Regions from separate parts of the Homo sapiens genome. Here all the other regions are linked to region 1. Evidence: promoter capture Hi-C in 16 types of primary human blood cells and fetal thymus (Javierre and others, 2016). All regions are on one chromosome and are shown on one strand. The core of a region is centred on a gene start or on the middle of the fragment in contact, and the rest is flanking DNA. Distances in the headings are between cores, read along the strand shown. Region 1 holds the start of SLC9A9-AS1 (SLC9A9 antisense RNA 1). Region 2 overlaps LOC105374138 (a long non-coding RNA gene). Region 3 overlaps SLC9A9 (solute carrier family 9 member A9). Region 4 has its middle 24 kb from the start of CHST2. Region 5 overlaps SLC9A9 (solute carrier family 9 member A9). Region 6 has its middle 77 kb from the start of CHST2.

Region 1 (2,801 bases), core at 154-2,653:
ATGAGTTGGTACAAGAAATGTGAAAAAGAGAGATTGGAAATCTATTGAAATTTGCTAGTCATTAGTGCAGAAGGCTTTATTCACTTCCACATATTTTCTGCATTTAGGATCACCTGAACTTTATCACTTTTGCTGGTAGCAGAACAATTAAGCTGAATAGGACACTTAATTCTAAGAAAGTTCTAAAGAAATCTTTAAAATTTTTAAGACTATCCCTCTCACTATCCTTTAGGCTGAAAGTCTGTCCAAATGTCTTTTGGCACTTATGTGGAATATGATGAATTCCTTTCGCTGGATGTATCTCAGGATAGCATTAATTTGGTGTGATCGGGAGGTGAATTTCTTTAGGATCTTTTTCACTGTTCATGTGCTGTTTTGCAGTTCCTTTGGAGTAGTGGGGGCTTAAGGGGGCTTAGCTTTCATAAACTTTTGGTCTTGAGAATATATACCTGAGATGGGGTCGGTTTGGGAGCCTCCAATGCCTGTCAATTTGGGAACTCCAGAGTAGGATTTTATAAAAATAATCATCCATTCATAACTGTATTGAGTTACAAGGGAGGGCAAGAGAGTCATCCCAGGTCATAGTCATACAATGTAAATTTAGACCAAGGGATGAAACGTGTTGGAGAACACCCTGCAATAATCATTATTGGGTATCTGTGAATTTAACACACTTTTCAGAATGGGACAAGTTGCTTGCCACGGTAGGAAAAGCTGTGCCAAATGTTTGAGGAGAAATGTGGAGAGGAATAACATTAGCTTCAGATACCAAATTGCAAGTTAAACTTCCTGAGGATTTCCCGAACCCTGTTCAAATAAATTAAAATTTTGTTTACCAAAATGACTCCGATATGCAAATACAGAACACAGTGTTATATAGGTGCTAGGGACTGAAATTTTTTACAATCATATAATTTATTGTAATACTTAATATTATGATAAGACCGTTAATTTATCATATTTTCCCTGTAGTGTTTACTCACATGGACGGGGATAGATCCAGATTTCATGAAGTCTGAAGGTTACCTAATTTTGGAGGCTATTCTTAATAAAAAGAATGCACACTTTTGAATATCAACACTGGTCCCTTACAAAGGACCCATGCAGATGAAGAGCCCTGAAAGCTGAGTTTCATTGATTCCGGGTGAAACTACCTCTGGATGTGGAGCTGTGTTATGGGAATACCGCATCACAGTCAGGACCCAGCTCTGCTGCCGCCTCAGTAGGAGGCAAAGGTGGAAACGTGGAAACTATGGTTATAAGGTTCATACTTTACTGACCATCATTGAAGCTGCTTGTTGGGTCCCTTAGGAAGGGATCTCTCAATGAAACAAACATTAGAGCTTCTTATTTTTTTTTGAGACAGTGTCTAACTCTGTCACCCAGGCTGGAGTGCAGTGGCACCATCTTGGCTCACTACAACCTCTGCTTCCTGGATTCAGGTGATTCTCCTACCTCAGCCTTCTAAGTAGCTAGGATTACAAGGCATGTGCTACCATACCGAGCTAATTTTTGTATTTTTAGTAGAGACAGGGTTTTGCCATATTGGCCAGGCTGATCTTGAACTGCTGACCTCAAGTGATCCACCCTTATGACCAGCAGACCCTGATCTAAGAAGCTAGATGATTCCTCATGAGGTCACTTATAAACCTTATTGCTGATGTATTTCAGTTTATTTATTGGACTATCTTAGATTTTAAACACCCCACCCAATGCCACCATCTATGTAGCAACTAGAGCAGGACTCACAAATAAAATAACCTTCAAGGCCAAACAGCTTCCAATAGCCAGATTTGTCAAGATTAACTTAAGGTTTTAAAATTAGGCAATGCTTGTAGACACAAACCACTGTGGGCACCATAAAATATCACCTTATTTCAAAAGACTGAGAAAACTGAAAATGACCTGAAAAATTCCTATTGAGTGATCTATTTAATCACTCAGGTGGGGTATGGTGTATCTGGTGCATGTTCAACCTCAGGTGCAGGTGCATGTGCATGCAAATATACACGCGCCACGCTTTTAACCATGCATCTCTCTTTGAAAAGATCATTCCTTCTTTCTTATCTATATGTGAACAAATTGTCAAAACAACCTCAAATGCTAGATGATATAATCCCCAAATGCTAGTAATATAAAAATGACTGTAATAATACAAGTGATATCATTGCTATACATAGCACCACACTTTTACTGTTTCTCAAATCTACAACTATCCTATTTTCTAGTGTTTGTTTATTTCTTTATTCACTGAAATGACTGATATGGGCAGTTTAGACACCCAGAGGAGGAGATAATGGTTTTGATTGTGCTAGATGGTTTGACTCTGCTGAGTGTATCCTATAGACTTAATACCAACAGAGGTCATGGATATTTTTTTCCCACTTCTTTTCCTCTTTATTGTTAAGGAGACTAATTGTGTGTGAGTGTATGACAGGAAATGTTTTGATTTTTTTGTAGTGGCAAGAACAGGAGGGCATTCTTTTAAACATCTTTTCATTTTCTAGGCAAAGCGTGGGAATGGAGGATGAGAGATAGTCAATTTTCAGAATAAGATGTTCTACCAAGATGTAAAGAGGGGAAAAAAAGTAACTTTCAACAGCTAGGCAAGAACTGCCACAAGCAGTAGTCGAAAAAATCAACGGCATGGTTTCCTAATGTGGTCTTGGATTCAGCAAGAAAATACTACAGAGAGAAAACTGCAGGAGTCCCTATTTTGTCCCCTCAAAATGAATTAAATGGTCTAGTGGAAGCTGAAGGACTCTGAAGATGGTGAGTCTACCACTGATTCTTCAGATGGT
Region 2 (2,801 bases), core at 149-2,648, 250 kb before region 1:
CAGAAAAGATCACAAAAGGAGAAATTGATGGTTTGGGGCTACCGATAAACAGGCTGGTAGAGTGGTTATACTTCTAGCATCACATGGAATCAATGTTACTTTCTGCACAGATTTAAAAAACAAAAAACTTGTGTGGTGGTTCACACCTGTAGTCCCAGCACTTTGGGAGATTGAGGCAGGAGGATCGCTTGAGGCCAGGAGTTCAAGACCAGTGTGGGCAACAGAGTGAGACCTCATTTCTACAAAAAATTTAAAAAATTACTCAGGTTTGGTGGTGCACACCTGTGGTCCCAGCTATTCAGGAGGCTAAGGTGGGAGGATCGCTTGAGCCCAGGAGTTTGAGGCTACAGTGAAGCATGATTGCACCACCACACCCCAGCCTGGGTGACAGAGTGAGACCCTACCCCCACCAAAAATAATAAAAAACAAAAAACAAACAAATGAACAGAACAATTTTGGTTCTTGTAAAAAAAAATAGGAAGAGAAGGTTAAGTGTCCATAGTTTTCCAAAACGAGTATGTAACCCCACTGTATGCAGGGGCATGAGGCACAGTGGGTGTCTAGGGCATGCTTTGGAAGTATGCAGCTGGCAGCTGCAGAGGGAGAAAGGCATTGGCTAAGAAGAGAACTGTGTTCCTGGCCCAGATCTTATGACCTTCAGCTAGTCATTCTATGGACTTTAGGTTCCTTATCTGTAAAATGGGCCTGTTGCACTATATGATTACTCTTATCAGCCAACTCAGAGGAGTGTGTGTGTGTGTGTGTGTGTGTGCATGCATGGTCATGCCTGTGTGAGTGTGTGTATGTTTGTGGTTTTTAAAAGCTTACCTCCAAACAAAATTGCCCCTTCTCAAACTGGGTGCCACTGTTCTAAGCCATTCTTCCTGATGCAAGCTAGTAAATGTTCCCTTCAGATCTCACATTAGGAATTTTGTTTTGATTACCTTAAAGACTCTTTGTAGCTCTGGCAGCCTCTCAATCTGTGCTTAGGAGGATGAAATGGTCTGTGCTCACAGGCTTTGGAAGATAGAAAACTGCCTCTCTTCCTCCCTTCTCCCCACGCTTCCTCATCCCCTAATCTCCACTGGAATCTATCAGCTGAATTCTGAGTTTGTGTCCCCAAGGCAGGAATCTGGGAGGTGACAGGACACTGTCCCTCACAGCAGCTTTCTGTGAGCCATAGCATTCTAGAGAAGTCATGCAGTTGAAGAATATAATTCAAAAATAGATAAACTGATAGCAAAGCCACTGGTTATTGACCACTCGTTGTGTGTCAGGCACTGTGCTAATTCCTTACATATACATTTCTTAAACCCTTATGATAACCTAGTAAACATAATGATCCCATATTATAGATGAGAACACAGACTCCGACAGGCTAAGTAATTTTCCCAAGGCCTCAGAACTCCTAAGTGGCTGAGCCAGGATTGAAGGCAGAGCTCCTTGCCATCTGGCCAAAGAGGCATTGTGGAGCAGACTGTTTTTCAAAATATAGGTTATAATCCATTAATACTCCATGAAAATAATTCTGGGCTTAAGAATAGCATTAAAAATAGAGTAGAATGGAAAATATCAGAGTGCATCTTACGTAATATGTAAATATTATTTTGTGAAATTTTGTGTGTGTATGTACAGTGTTGTGACATAAAATCAACTTCTTACTGTGGGTGGTCATTAACATTTTCTTTTATAATAGAGTTTGCGAAACTCCAGTCAGGAGAAGTTAATTAATGAGATGGAATGAAAAGGGCAAGGTGTGGGGTGTTTGGGTATTTCCCCTGCAGAAATTGACCTTTTTTTTTTTTTTTTTTTTTTAGTTTTGTAGTTTTGTCATTTCAAATACCCTCTTTACATCTTTCAGTCTCTTTTCCTTATGGTTCCTTCTTGTTCTGAAATTCTATGACCCTTTGAGAAGCACAGGCAATTAATTTGTGTTTTGGCAGGGTAGAGAATGACAGAGTCACTGGGCACTGGGAAGCTTTACAGGGTACTTTTCCCTGAGCGGAGAGGAGGAGGCTGGTTTCTCTGGGCAGAGGGAGATAATACTCTATGTTTTGCTCCTTTTAGTCAACACTGTAATAGCAAAATTTATTCATGTATTTGTTTATACTCTAGTTCAGGGGTTCCCAGCCTCTGGGCTGCAAACTGGTACTGGTCTGAGGCCTGTTAGGAACTGGGCTGGACAGCAGGAGGTGAGCAGTGGGCGAGCAAGCAGCACTGCCTGAGCTCTGCCTCCTGTCAGGTCAGCGGCAGCATTAGATTCTCATAGGAGCGCCAACCCTATTGTGAGCTGTGCATTCGAGGGATCTGAGATGGGACAGTTTCATCTTGAAACCAACCTTGTCCTCATCTGTGGAAAAATTGTCTTCCATGAAACCAGTCCCTGGTGCCAAAAAGGTTGGAGATTGCTGCTCTAGTTCATTCTTTTCCATTTTATATTCCATCATTTGACTATATAATTATAAATCATTTGTATTTGTTTTTGCTCTTTGGGTTTTATAAACAGTGTAGTTTTGAAGGTTCTGGCCTAAGCATTCTGGTGTGCATGTCCACAGATTCTCTAATGAATATGCCCAGTAAATAAGGAATAGTGAATGACCCAGAATTGCTGGGTTTTAGGGTATCAAAATGCTCACGTTTGCTAGGAAATGCCAAAACCATTTTTTCCAAAGTAGCAACAATTTATGATTTTCACCAGCAGTGTATAAGAATTCTTATTCTCACTAACAGTTGGCACTGCCAGATTTTTTACATTTTTGGCGGTGGTGTGTAGTAGCTCTTTGTGGTTTTTGTTTTTATTT
Region 3 (2,801 bases), core at 169-2,668, 230 kb after region 1:
TTCCAAGAGACTGAGATGAGGTGGCTGCAAATGTGGCCCTTGAAGCAAAAGATGATCAAAATAAATCAAATGATCATCATCAAATTAGTAACAACTGAAAGTGAATGCAGGCCACGTGTTAATGAGCAAGCTGCTTACACTGAAGTGTTCATGATGAATCTGGTAAGAAGCTGAATTGGAAAGGATAATGAACACTGCAAACTGTCTTTAAAAGCTTGATTCTTTTTGTTCGTTTATCAGTATGCACCTGGCATAAGATGGTCCCAAGTATCCTAGCCTAGAGGCTGTGCCGTCTTTGAGACTGTCTTCCCTTCTGATCTGTCACAAAGTTATACAATTTCTTTTGTTGAAATACCTCATGGACTATTCCTTCCTTTGTACCATTTAGATTTCTTTGTTTGCAAGTAATAAAAACAGACTCTGGCTAGCATAATCAGAAAGGAATTTATTGGAAGGAAGTGTGATAGCTCTTAGAAAGGAGGCATCATGGCTGCTCCAGGGATCTGGTGGCAGGAATAAATAAATAGAGGGTCTCAATAGGGCTCTGCTATTGAGGAGGTGCCAGCAGTTATACAGCCTCCTCTCTCCCTCCTAAAGTTTTACATACCAGGGGAAGAGTGTCTAGTTGTCCTACCTTCAGATGTCCTAATTCTCTTTGTCAGGGGAGGGTGGGACACGTTGATTAGAAGATGTTATCCATTGGAGTTGGGGGTAGTTTCCTAAGAAACATTAGGATGCTATTACCAGTGGAAGTGAGAATGTGTTGGGGCAGCCAGAACCAACACATGTCCACCACATTCTTCTAGACAGAGCTGTTCCTTTCATGCCTATATGTCTTCATTTTTTAACTTAATAATTGGGAAAATAAGGTTACAGATTAATGCAATTTATGAGATATCATTTACTTGACGTATGGATCTGCTGTGAAATGTTTGGACCAGAGGATGTGTAAAATCTGTAGGAATATTATTGGGCACAGAACACTTACTACCTTATAAAGTGATCTGTTATTCAGGTTTTGAAACTTTTTTCTTTTGTGAGTGAAAATTATTCATTCCACTGCTCGAACGATATTTATTTTGTGCCCACAATGCTTCAGACATTCTTTTGGTGCTGACAAAGCCCTCCTGAACTTGACAGTCTAACTTCTGCCCATTAATCCTAATTCTCCATCAGCTCTAATTTTGTACTTTAGAGCTACAGAGAATAAATCAAATAGTGCAGTGCAATCTAGATGCACATATACAAACAATAACCAGTTAGAAACTATAAAGAAGTTCCCATTTACTGTAGCACCCCAAAATATAAAGTAGCTGCTGAAAAGATACTTAACAAGAAATTTGTAGGTCTAATGTGAAGACAACTGTAAAAATTTACTGAGAGCCGTAAAATAAGACTCAAATAAATGGAGAGTCATAACATATTCCTGGGTGGGAAGACTTGATGTTATAAAAATGCCATTTCTCTTCAAATTAATCTAAAAATTTAATGTACCCCAATTATAATTCCAAAATTATTTTCTGTTTGGAACCTGTTATTTCCAAGTCCATCAGGAATAATAAATACACAGGTATAGCAAAGGAACTTTTGAATATGGGGAAGAGGAGTGAAAGACTGACCTACTAGATATTAAAATAAACCATGAAGCTGAAATAATTGACACAGTGAATATCAAACATTCGGTGGAACAATGGAAAGCCCAGAACATACAGATACACATACACATACATGTATGTGCACATACATAGACATTTTAAATAGGCAAAAGTTGATGGGTGTTAGGACAGGTGACTTATCATCTGGGAAGAAAATCAAATCGCTACTATACCCCACACCTCATATCAAAACAAATTCCAGTTGGTTTCTGATGCAAAAACAAAATCAAACAACTTTTAAAAGAAATTATACACTATCATTAAGAAACACTTGGGTTTTCTATATATTTTTTCTTTTTTATTATTTTTTAGGCTGCTAAGTTTGTGGACATATCATTCACTTGGGCTTTCTAAGGAGGCAATACAATTAACCACATAAAACTTGAAAATGCCTATGCCAACCCCTTTCCCTTACCCAAACGAACAAAACAGAACATAGTTAAAAGGTACAAGCACAAATTGGAGAATATTTATGGCCTATATGACAGTCAAAAGGTTAATTTTCTTTTATTGTTTTTTTCTTTTTTTTTTTTTTTTGGAGACAGGGTATCTCTTTGTTGCCCAGAATAGAATGCAGTCATGTCATAGCTCATTGCAGTCTTGAACTCCTGGGCTCAAGCAATCCTCCTGCCTCAGCCTCCCTGGTAGCTAGGGCCACAGTGTGTGCCACCATGACCAGATACTTTTTTTTTTTTAGAGACAGGGTCTCACTATGTTGTCCAGTCTGGTCTGGAACTCTTGGGCCCAAGCAATCCTCCCTGCTTGGCCTCCCAAAGTGCTGGGATTATAGAAATGCATCATTGGTCCTAGCCAATTTTCTCCATAGATAAAGAGTAACTGAACTACAATGTGACAAAGATAAGCATCTCAACACGAAAACAGTTAACAACAACAAAAAAGTAACAAAGGGCATAAACTGGTAGTTCACCAAAGAAGAAATACAAACAGCCAATGACCTGTAATTAAAAAAGCTTCTCCTTCATAAAAATATAATAAATGTAAACCGGAAGAAAATGGAACTTGATTATCAAATTAGCAGTGATTAATAAGATTTGGGGTGGTGAAGACGTGAGTGAATGAGCTTGCTTTCAGATTGCTGGTGGGAGTGCAAGGGGATACAAATTTTCTAAAAGACAATTTGGACAA
Region 4 (2,801 bases), core at 213-2,712, 200 kb before region 1:
TCAGAGAACAAAAGACTTGCTGCCATCTTGGGAGCTGCCCGCCCCATCTTGGGAGCTCTAAGAAAAAAGACCCACCTATAACCGTCCCAGATTTGGCCAGTTGGTTCCTGTGCATTTTGACATGCCTCATCATTTTTCGAGCATTTATTTTTAGAAGCATAATATGGTCCAAGGTTATCTTTTACTTTCCTTTCTTTGTCTTGGAATCAGCCATTATTCCAAGGAGCCAAATTCCTTTTTATTGGAGAATGGTATTTAGAGATTAACATCTGGATGCTGTATCTGGTCATTCAACCAGAACAATTATCTCAATACAAGAGGGTTTTGTTAGGTGTCGCTGTTTTACATTTTTCATTCTTTCTTCTCAGTTATCTCTTTAGTATCAACTTATTTTTATGGCCTGTAAAGTATCAAGACATAAACTACTATTCTAATAGAAATTTCAGTATATATATATATTTTTACTTACTGTGTTTTAGCAAACATTTATTGAATATTTACTGTTCTAACAATTCATCTATTTACTTGTGAGTACCGACATTTATTGCTGCCACAGCTGAAAAGAGAACAGATTATGGATAATATAACTCTGATTATATACTTGTATGTTTTGGTGTGAATGTATCTATTCAGTTCCTTATCAACTGGTTAGCTGAGTCCATTTTCTTAAGCCACTGGTCAGTTTAGTGGAGCAAAAACCAGCTTGGCTAGCTGTTTGGCATTGTTAGATCTTAATTAACTACACTTTTTCATTTTTTGAACCGTTGTGCTGTTGTGTACATACAACTTTAGTTAAAAATTCAGTTTCCCAGTTGGTAATACATCTGCCAAGATGGTTGAATCATATCAAATCTCAGCAGAGCTGATACGCTGAAACATCCATTTCCCTGAGGGATATCATGGAGTTATATGCATAGTCAACAGGTAATTTATGAACTCTAAGGCCAAATCTTCCAGTGCAAAAGCTAATCTGTTCCATTTTGGTGAAGGATGTCTCTATTTCATTTTCTATGGATTCCTCATCAAAATCACTCTATACATCAAACAGAAGTACGGTGAGAAACCCTTGGAACATGATTCAATCATGTTGATTTAGTCAACAACTTCCCCAGGGCTAATGCAGTTAGAGTAATCATATAAATCAAAACACCTAATTCTTCTTATCTAGAATGTCAAAGACTTTTCTACATTGTGTTTGATGTAGTTGGTGCAAATATAAAGAAGGCAAAATGCAAGATTTCAAGAGAGATGTTAGGAGGAATTCTATATATTATCATAACAATGCACTTTCTTTGGTGTTGCTGTTGCCTCCAGCTAGTTCCTCAAAGGTGAGCAGTTTGTGAAATGATCAAACTTGGGTTGTTATAATAAAAGTAGTTACTGTTCAAGAGATACATCTGAATTGGATGTATACCAGACTTTACAATGGCACTGTCCTTCCAAAGGGAAGGACATCTACAGCAGGCTTGGAAAAGACACACAGATAGCTCTGTTACTTCTTGTGCATTTTGAATGACTCTTTCAACAGAACCATGCTTCTTATGTAGTTCTGTCCTTATAATCGAAAAAAATAAGACCCATTCAAGTCTTCCTCTCTAGCCTCTCAAGACATAACATGATACCATTTGGAAGCCAGTTGGGAGCATCATGTCTTCACCCAAGCCCCTGATGTAGAAGTCAACTTCCCTCATCCCAGCCCATGGAGACTCATCTTCTTATTGGCTCCTGCTGCCCAAACTGGTAGTCCTCAGCTCCAATTTCCCTTTGTAGATTAAGGTACTGTTGCCAGCATAAGAGGTATGGGGCAGGGGAAAACTTGTGACTGACCCAGATCAGCCTACTTGCCAATAGGGTGTATGATTCCTCAGTATTTCTTAAAAACAAATGAGCTGATGTTTGCCAGACACCTTCTCAGAACTCCTTACTGCCCCCCCCCACACATATGCTTCTACTTTGATTCTATGTGTGGTTGCTGCTTGTAATTGTCCTGGAGAATTCAAAAGGGGGTTCTGTAGATCAGTTCTTGCACCTAGAAACTAGCACTTATATTTCCCTCCTGTCTTGGGATTCTGTGTCCATATGATCCCCTAGCAGGACGTCCATTTCTTCAGTAAAGTGGCCATTTTCTGTAGGAGAAACGTGCCCATGTTCTGCCCTGAAGTACTAGACCATCTGTTGGGGAAATGCTGCCATGAGAAGATCTGTTGTGCCATGGACCTACTTTAGTGGTGAAGGAAAGGAACATGGCACAGGCTCACCTCAGGGCCTTTGCACTTGCAGTGCCCTCTGCCTAGAATGCTTTTTACTGAGATTGCTGCATGGCTGCTTCCCTTTTGCCACACATGTCTCAGCTTAAAGATCCTCTCCTCTGAGAGCCTTCTCTGACTACATGGGTACTGTCTTTTCCAACCCCAGTTTTATTTTCTTCACTGTACTTACCATTATCTGATATTTTGTTGGCTCATTTGTTTACTTGACACATGTGGCTAGAATGGGAGCCCCTTTAGAGCAGGGACCTTGCCCGTTTTGGTCACTAGCATTCCCAGGGTCAGTATAGGAATAACAAATCTGTCTTAGAACAAGTCTGCAATGCCTGTGTCAATTAATATCAACTTTACCTAGAAGAAACAAGTCTAGGCTGGTTGAGGTGGCTCATGTCTATAATCCCAGCACTTGGAGAGTCCAAAAGGGGAGAATTGCTTGAGGCCAGGAGTTTGAGACCAACCTGGGCAACATAGTGAGACCCCCATACCACCCCCGCCCCCCGCAAAAAAAAAAAAAAAAAATTAGCCAGGCATGGT
Region 5 (2,801 bases), core at 186-2,685, 200 kb after region 1:
TTGAGGCAGGTCTATCATAACAGTTTATTCTCCCTTAAGAAGAGATTGGTCACAGCTGATTCCAATCAAGTCCTTTTTCAATGTAACCCAGAGCAATTGTATTAAGTGACTCTCCTAAAACCAAACTCTTGTTCTCACTTGTTAGATTTCCCTCTCGGGTACTTTATTAGGAGTTATATATCATATCTCCACTGATAGGATTCTTTGGATTTTTGAGCTGTGCCTCCAGAAGCAATTCAATTTCTTTTCTGAAGGAATTGCACAAAGACTTAACGTTTTATTAAATACATTTGCTGCATCTTTCAAGATTATTAAGGAAATGGCATCCTTAAATTTGGCAACATTCTTTAACAAACACATGCTCAGGCACACATATTCAGCCTTGATGTTTTCTGCATTGCATCAATAAAATTTAATTGAAATAAGTAGAAAAATTACAGTAATTTCCATTTATCATTCTAAAATGCCATTATGAGACTGAAGCCCTTCATACTTACACCTATCAAACAGGATGATAAAACTGTAATGGGCTATTAAAGGGGGTTATGCCATTGCCATCCTTAGAAATTTTAAGGTAATAGTGGGCGACCATCTGTCTTGAGTGTTATCAAAGCAGGTACCAGGCCAGCTGATCTCCTAAATTCCATTCATATAAAATTTTCCATTATGCATTGAATCAGATCCATACATAGAAGGACATGAAATTTATATGTTGATATCCAAGCTTTGATGATGGTAGTTTTTGTTTTCTAAAAGTGAAAAATTAAGAGAGAGAGAGAGAGAGAGAGTGTGCAAGTGAGCACTATCTTTTTAAGGAGTTGGGGCTCTACATAGTGAGAAAGAATACAAAACCATGATTTGGGGGAAAATATAATAAAGAAAATTAATATTTAGAAAAGGCTAAATGAGGTAAGTATACTTTCTTAGGGCTTGGTGGGGATGAGAAAGAAAAATTAAGGGAAGATTTTGGAGACTTGTTAGTAAGACATTTAAAGGTAAATTAGTATGTGCCACCAAGACATTGCCTATTGGGTAGAGATAGTCTTGGGAGGTGACTCTGATACAGAGCCTTTTATGATGGTGATAAAGAAGCAGAATAAAACAACAATAACATTGTTCAAGTACTCTTAGTTATGTAGAATGCTGATGAATCCTGAAGAAAGCAAGCCAGCAGAGGCAAAACAGAATAATATCTGTCATAAGATAAATAGGTGAACAGGATAGATGATGAGACAGCACCAATATTTTGGTGAAAAAAGAAAAGACTATTCTTGGCTCTACCTATTAAGGCCCTCTCAGGGTTGTAGTAAAGCAGGGAAATAAAAAAATGGAGGAGAGTGGTGATCTGCAGGAACGGAGTTCCCTTCATCATCCTCTGTTAAGGGGACAGGGAAGAAAAACAGAAAGCCCAAGGAGAGGAAGAAGAATGGATTAGTGATAAAAGGATAAAACAATAGAATGCATAAATAAATTGAAAATGATCAGGATCACGTGTAAAGTTTCATAAATTTAATAAAAGGGGAAAATACATGCATGCAATTTTCTGTAAGAAAAGGTCTATACTCAAATACATACAAAGGACATTAAAAACAACGAGTTGTGATGCACTACTCTATTCTTTGTGTGGCCTTAACTTCTCTAAGACTATAAAATCTGATTAATAATAGTCTTCACCTTGTAGATTTTATGTGAACATTAATAAGAATAACTTATATGAAACATATATGTTCAGTGCCTGACACATTATAGTGTTCAACAATTGTTGATACTAAATTTTTTAAAACCTGGGTAGGATAGATGGTTTACTAAGAAAATGGATATGGCTAAAATTGAATGAAGAAGCAGAAAACCTAAATATTCAACCATATACGAAATTAAAAGCACTATCAAACAATTTCTTCCAAAAATGGCATTGGGTCTCCTGGTACTTTAAAATGTCCACAAATTATTTGACACCCCTTCCCCCACCACCACTTCAAAATGTAAATGAATTAATCCCCTCCCATTGCTCATGGTCCAATTTTACGGAATCGATTCTAACAAATAGAATATGGCAGAAATGACAGTAAACAACTTTAGAGACTAGTTAATCAGAACCATTGCTTCTGTCTTTTTGCTCTCTCTGGTTTCACTTGCTCTGGGCAAAGTAAGCTTTCACATCACGAGGACACCCAAGCAGCCCGATGGAGGACACAGGTGGAAGAACTGAGGTCTTCTGCCAACAGCCACGTAAATGAGGCTCTTGGAGAGAATTCTCTAGCCCCAGCCAAACCTTGAGACACGGAAGCCCTGATCAACAATTTGTCAGCAACCTCACGAGACCCTGAGCCAAAGCCACCCAGCAAAGCTGATACTCCTGGATTCCAGGACTTCACAAACTATACGAAATAATAATACAAGTTTGTTGTTTAAAGCTGCTAAATTTGGGAGTAATTTGTTACACAGCAATATATAACAAATATACCAAATGTTTTTAGAGGCAGGTGCTGTGTATTTTTAATTGACAGTGCATATCCCTTGAGCAATGACCCATGTCCAGGTTGACCCTGGGTTGGAAAACTGGTCCAAGCCCTTGAAGTCATTGAATTTCCCTGGGTTTCAGTTTCCTCCAATAAAATTCTGGGTTCAAAAGTTTATAGTTTCCCTTAGCTCTGAACTTCTTTGATTTCATGACTTAAAATTTCCAACTGCAATTATATGCTATGATAAACAGATTTGTGGGTGAGAGAGTAGGACAGATTTAACTGAGAAGTTATAGTCCAACTACAGCTTTGTCAGATAAAAAATTTACATAAAATATT
Region 6 (2,801 bases), core at 195-2,694, 150 kb before region 1:
ATATATGCAAAAGAGATATGTATCTTGTTAATTCCCAGAGCCTAGACAAGGCTGGGCACATAGTAGGTACTCCATAAATATTTATTGAGTATATATATATATGGCATATATATATATATATGCCCCTTTGGAAGTTTTACTTCTTCTGTTTATTGTTGATATTTCAAAATCTCATGAGAATATATTTAGGTGTAGGCCTTTGTGTTCAGTAATTGCAGCATCCAAGATGGGCTTGCTACTGCTCTAGGAGTTTTTTTTTCCTATGGTTGTTTTATTTCCTTTCTTCCAACTCCTTTTCTTCCTCATCTTTGGAACTCCTGTTGGGTTGGTATTAGAATTCCTGGATTGAAGTTAGAGCTATGATACAGTTCGGATATTTGTCCCCACCCAAATCTCATGTTGAATTGTAATTCCCCAATGTTGGAGGTGGGGCCTGATGGGAGGTGTTTGGGTCATGGAGGCGGATCCCTCGTGGCTAGGTGCTGTTGTCCCAGTAGTGAGTAAATTCTCACAAGATCTGGTTGTTTAAAGTATGTGGCACCTCTCCCACTTTCTCTTGTTCCTGCTTTCACCACGTGACATGCCTGCTTCCACTTTGCCTTCAGCCATGAGTAAAAGCTCCTGAGGCTTCCCCAGAAGCTGAGCAAAGGCAGGAACCATTTGTTACAGCCTGCAGATTTGTGAGCCAATTAAATCTGTTTTCTTTATAAATTATGCAGTCTCAGGTATTTCTTTATAGCAATGCAATAATGGCTTTACACAATCTATCATATCATTTAAGTTTTTCTCTTCCTTTAAAAAAACTTCTTCTTCCTATTTTTTATCTGTAATCTTTCTTTGACTTTGTCTTCTAGCTCTTATATAGTTTTTTTATTTTTAATTTTTGTGGGTACATAGATGATATATTTATGGTGACATATTTATATATGTTTGTGGGTACATGGGTGATATATTTATGCGGTACATGAGATATTTTGACATAGACATACAATGTGTAATAATCACATCAGGGTAAATGGAGTATCTATCATGTCAATAATTTATCCCTTCTTTGTGTTACAACAATCCAATTATATTCTTTTAGTTATTTTAAAATGTATAATAAATTATTGTTGACTGTAGTCACCCTGTTGTGCTATCAAATACTAGATCTTATTCATTCTAATTATATTTTTGTACCTATGGTTTTTATTTTGACAGTTATTTTTTAATTTGCAAAACATTGTATTTGTTCTCTGTCCTGTGTTGAAGTGTTTGGTTCTGTTTTGATGGTTGTAGTCTCTTTTCAGTCTGTACATGCCTCCTTGGTAATCAGTCATTCTTTTTGCCTTAGAGATTCACTTACAAGCTGTTGATTTCCCTTAAATGTTTGTTAAACCTTGGCGGCTTGTTCCTTTTTGTAAAAAAAGGATTAGACTGATTAATATGGACCACTAAGGCAGTTCTAAAGTTTTCTTCTGTAGCTGAGTTGATCCATTTTCACAGCAAATCTCAGCATACTTCCCTTCTTAAAAAATGCCAAAATAGGATGGACGTTACTGTGCAGAACCACTACTTATGTGAAAAAGTCAGTATTCTCAAGATGCTGTGATGTCAGTATTTTTGTCCCCTCCAAAATTCATGCTGAAATTTAATCCTAAATGCAGCAATATCAAGGAGTTGTGGCCTTTAATAGGTGATTAGGCCATGAGGGCTCCCCTCTGGTGAAGGGGAGTCGGTGCCTTTATAAAAGGGCTTGAGGGAGGGAGTTTGTCCCTTTCTGCCCTTCTGCCTTCTGCCGTGTGAGGACACAGCATTCCTCCCCTCTGGAGACCACAGCATTCAAGACACCATTTTGGAGGCAGAGACAGGATCCTCAGTTAAACATCAAATTTGCCTCTTTGCTCTTGGACTTCCCATCCTCCAGAGCTGGGAGAAATACATCTGTTCTTTATAAATTCCTCAGTCTGAGTCTCAATTTATAAATTACCCAGTTTTTATAGCAGCACAAGCAGACTAAGACTTACAAGAGAAATACTCAACATTTTTATAGGACAGAGCTCTGGCTTTATGTGGAGGCCAATCACGTGGCTGACATGTTCACTAATAAACGTGGAAGTGAGAGATGTAGGAACTCTGGTTTGGCTGTTTTGTATTCTGCCCTTTAATTAATCACTCTGATTACAGCCCCCAGATACATTTTTGCTCCCTGAACCTTTCACTCTGAGCTTGGAGGTTCTCTGCATCTCCTCCAGGAAAAATGGTTCCAACTTCTGCTTGAGCCTTATTTTCTTTGCACTCTGAGATTCAGTTTTCTATGCACCATTAGCTTATTCCCTAATAGAGTCACATCTACTTTTGGCTTATATGATTTCACTAAAGTCTCTGGGTTATATGTATTTGGGGGCCAGTTTTACATTTTATCTAAGTGAAATTAGAATAAAGTGAGTATCATGGGAAGACTTTAGGGAAAAGACATCATGGAAAGTCAACATGTGGCTTGAGGAGAAGATGTGAAGGGGAGTCTGTTTTATAGACGATAGTTCTCCCATGGGTTAATGAGGCTGATTGTAAAGATTGCATACATTAAATACCCTAGAGCAAGTTTGTCTAACCTGCAGCCCATGGGGGCTTTGAATGCAGCCCATCACAAATTCACAAACTTTCTTAAAACATTATGAGATTTTTTTTTGCAATTTTTTTTAGCTCATCAGCTATAATTAGTATTACTGTATTTTATGTGTGGCCCCAGACAATTGTTCTTCTTACAATGTGGCCCAGGAAAGCCAAAAGATTGGACAGCCCTGCCCTAGAGGTTTTTT

What was found. Contacts are between HindIII fragments. The CHiCAGO score rates a contact against its expected background, and 5 or more counts as called.
Region 2: a fragment that was not itself captured here is called in contact with the fragment with the promoter of SLC9A9-AS1 in region 1 in 4 of 17 cell types (M2 macrophages, M0 macrophages, naive B cells and 1 more); the score reaches 8.6 in M2 macrophages.
Region 3: a fragment that was not itself captured here is called in contact with the fragment with the promoter of SLC9A9-AS1 in region 1 in 7 of 17 cell types (M2 macrophages, M1 macrophages, M0 macrophages and 4 more); the score reaches 7.5 in M2 macrophages.
Region 4: a fragment that was not itself captured here is called in contact with the fragment with the promoter of SLC9A9-AS1 in region 1 in 7 of 17 cell types (M2 macrophages, M0 macrophages, fetal thymus and 4 more); the score reaches 9.7 in M2 macrophages.
Region 5: a contact is called between a fragment that was not itself captured here and the fragment with the promoter of SLC9A9-AS1 in region 1, in 2 of 17 cell types (M2 macrophages and naive B cells). The highest score is 6.1, in M2 macrophages.
Region 6: a contact is called between a fragment that was not itself captured here and the fragment with the promoter of SLC9A9-AS1 in region 1, in 1 of 17 cell types (erythroblasts). The highest score is 5.1, in erythroblasts.

What each region holds. Positions count from the first base shown.
Region 1 is chr3:143,340,843-143,343,643 of GRCh38, forward strand. It overlaps SLC9A9-AS1 (SLC9A9 antisense RNA 1), which reads left to right and starts at 1,404. Exons shown (of 4, transcript NR_048544.1): 1 at 1,404-1,442; 2 at 2,508-2,772. The region is part of intron 14 of SLC9A9 (solute carrier family 9 member A9); the gene reads right to left. The HindIII fragment of the contact is 6,948 bases long and covers 1-2,801 here.
Region 2 is chr3:143,091,689-143,094,489 of GRCh38, forward strand. The region is part of intron 2 of LOC105374138 (a long non-coding RNA gene); the gene reads left to right. Among named protein-coding and RNA genes, the nearest start is that of CHST2, 27 kb to the right of the region's middle. The HindIII fragment of the contact is 1,155 bases long and covers 822-1,976 here.
Region 3 is chr3:143,567,639-143,570,439 of GRCh38, forward strand. All of the region lies in intron 8 of SLC9A9 (solute carrier family 9 member A9), which reads right to left. The region is part of intron 2 of LOC124906294 (a long non-coding RNA gene); the gene reads left to right. Among named protein-coding and RNA genes, the nearest start is that of SLC9A9-AS1, 230 kb to the left of the region's middle. The HindIII fragment of the contact is 2,412 bases long and covers 213-2,624 here.
Region 4 is chr3:143,142,786-143,145,586 of GRCh38, forward strand. No RefSeq gene overlaps it. Among named protein-coding and RNA genes, the nearest start is that of CHST2, 24 kb to the left of the region's middle. RefSeq lists an enhancer at 1-314. The HindIII fragment of the contact is 9,831 bases long and covers 1-2,801 here.
Region 5 is chr3:143,539,111-143,541,911 of GRCh38, forward strand. The region is part of intron 9 of SLC9A9 (solute carrier family 9 member A9); the gene reads right to left. Among named protein-coding and RNA genes, the nearest start is that of SLC9A9-AS1, 200 kb to the left of the region's middle. The HindIII fragment of the contact is 1,427 bases long and covers 723-2,149 here.
Region 6 is chr3:143,195,359-143,198,159 of GRCh38, forward strand. No RefSeq gene overlaps it. Among named protein-coding and RNA genes, the nearest start is that of CHST2, 77 kb to the left of the region's middle. The HindIII fragment of the contact is 3,920 bases long and covers 1-2,801 here.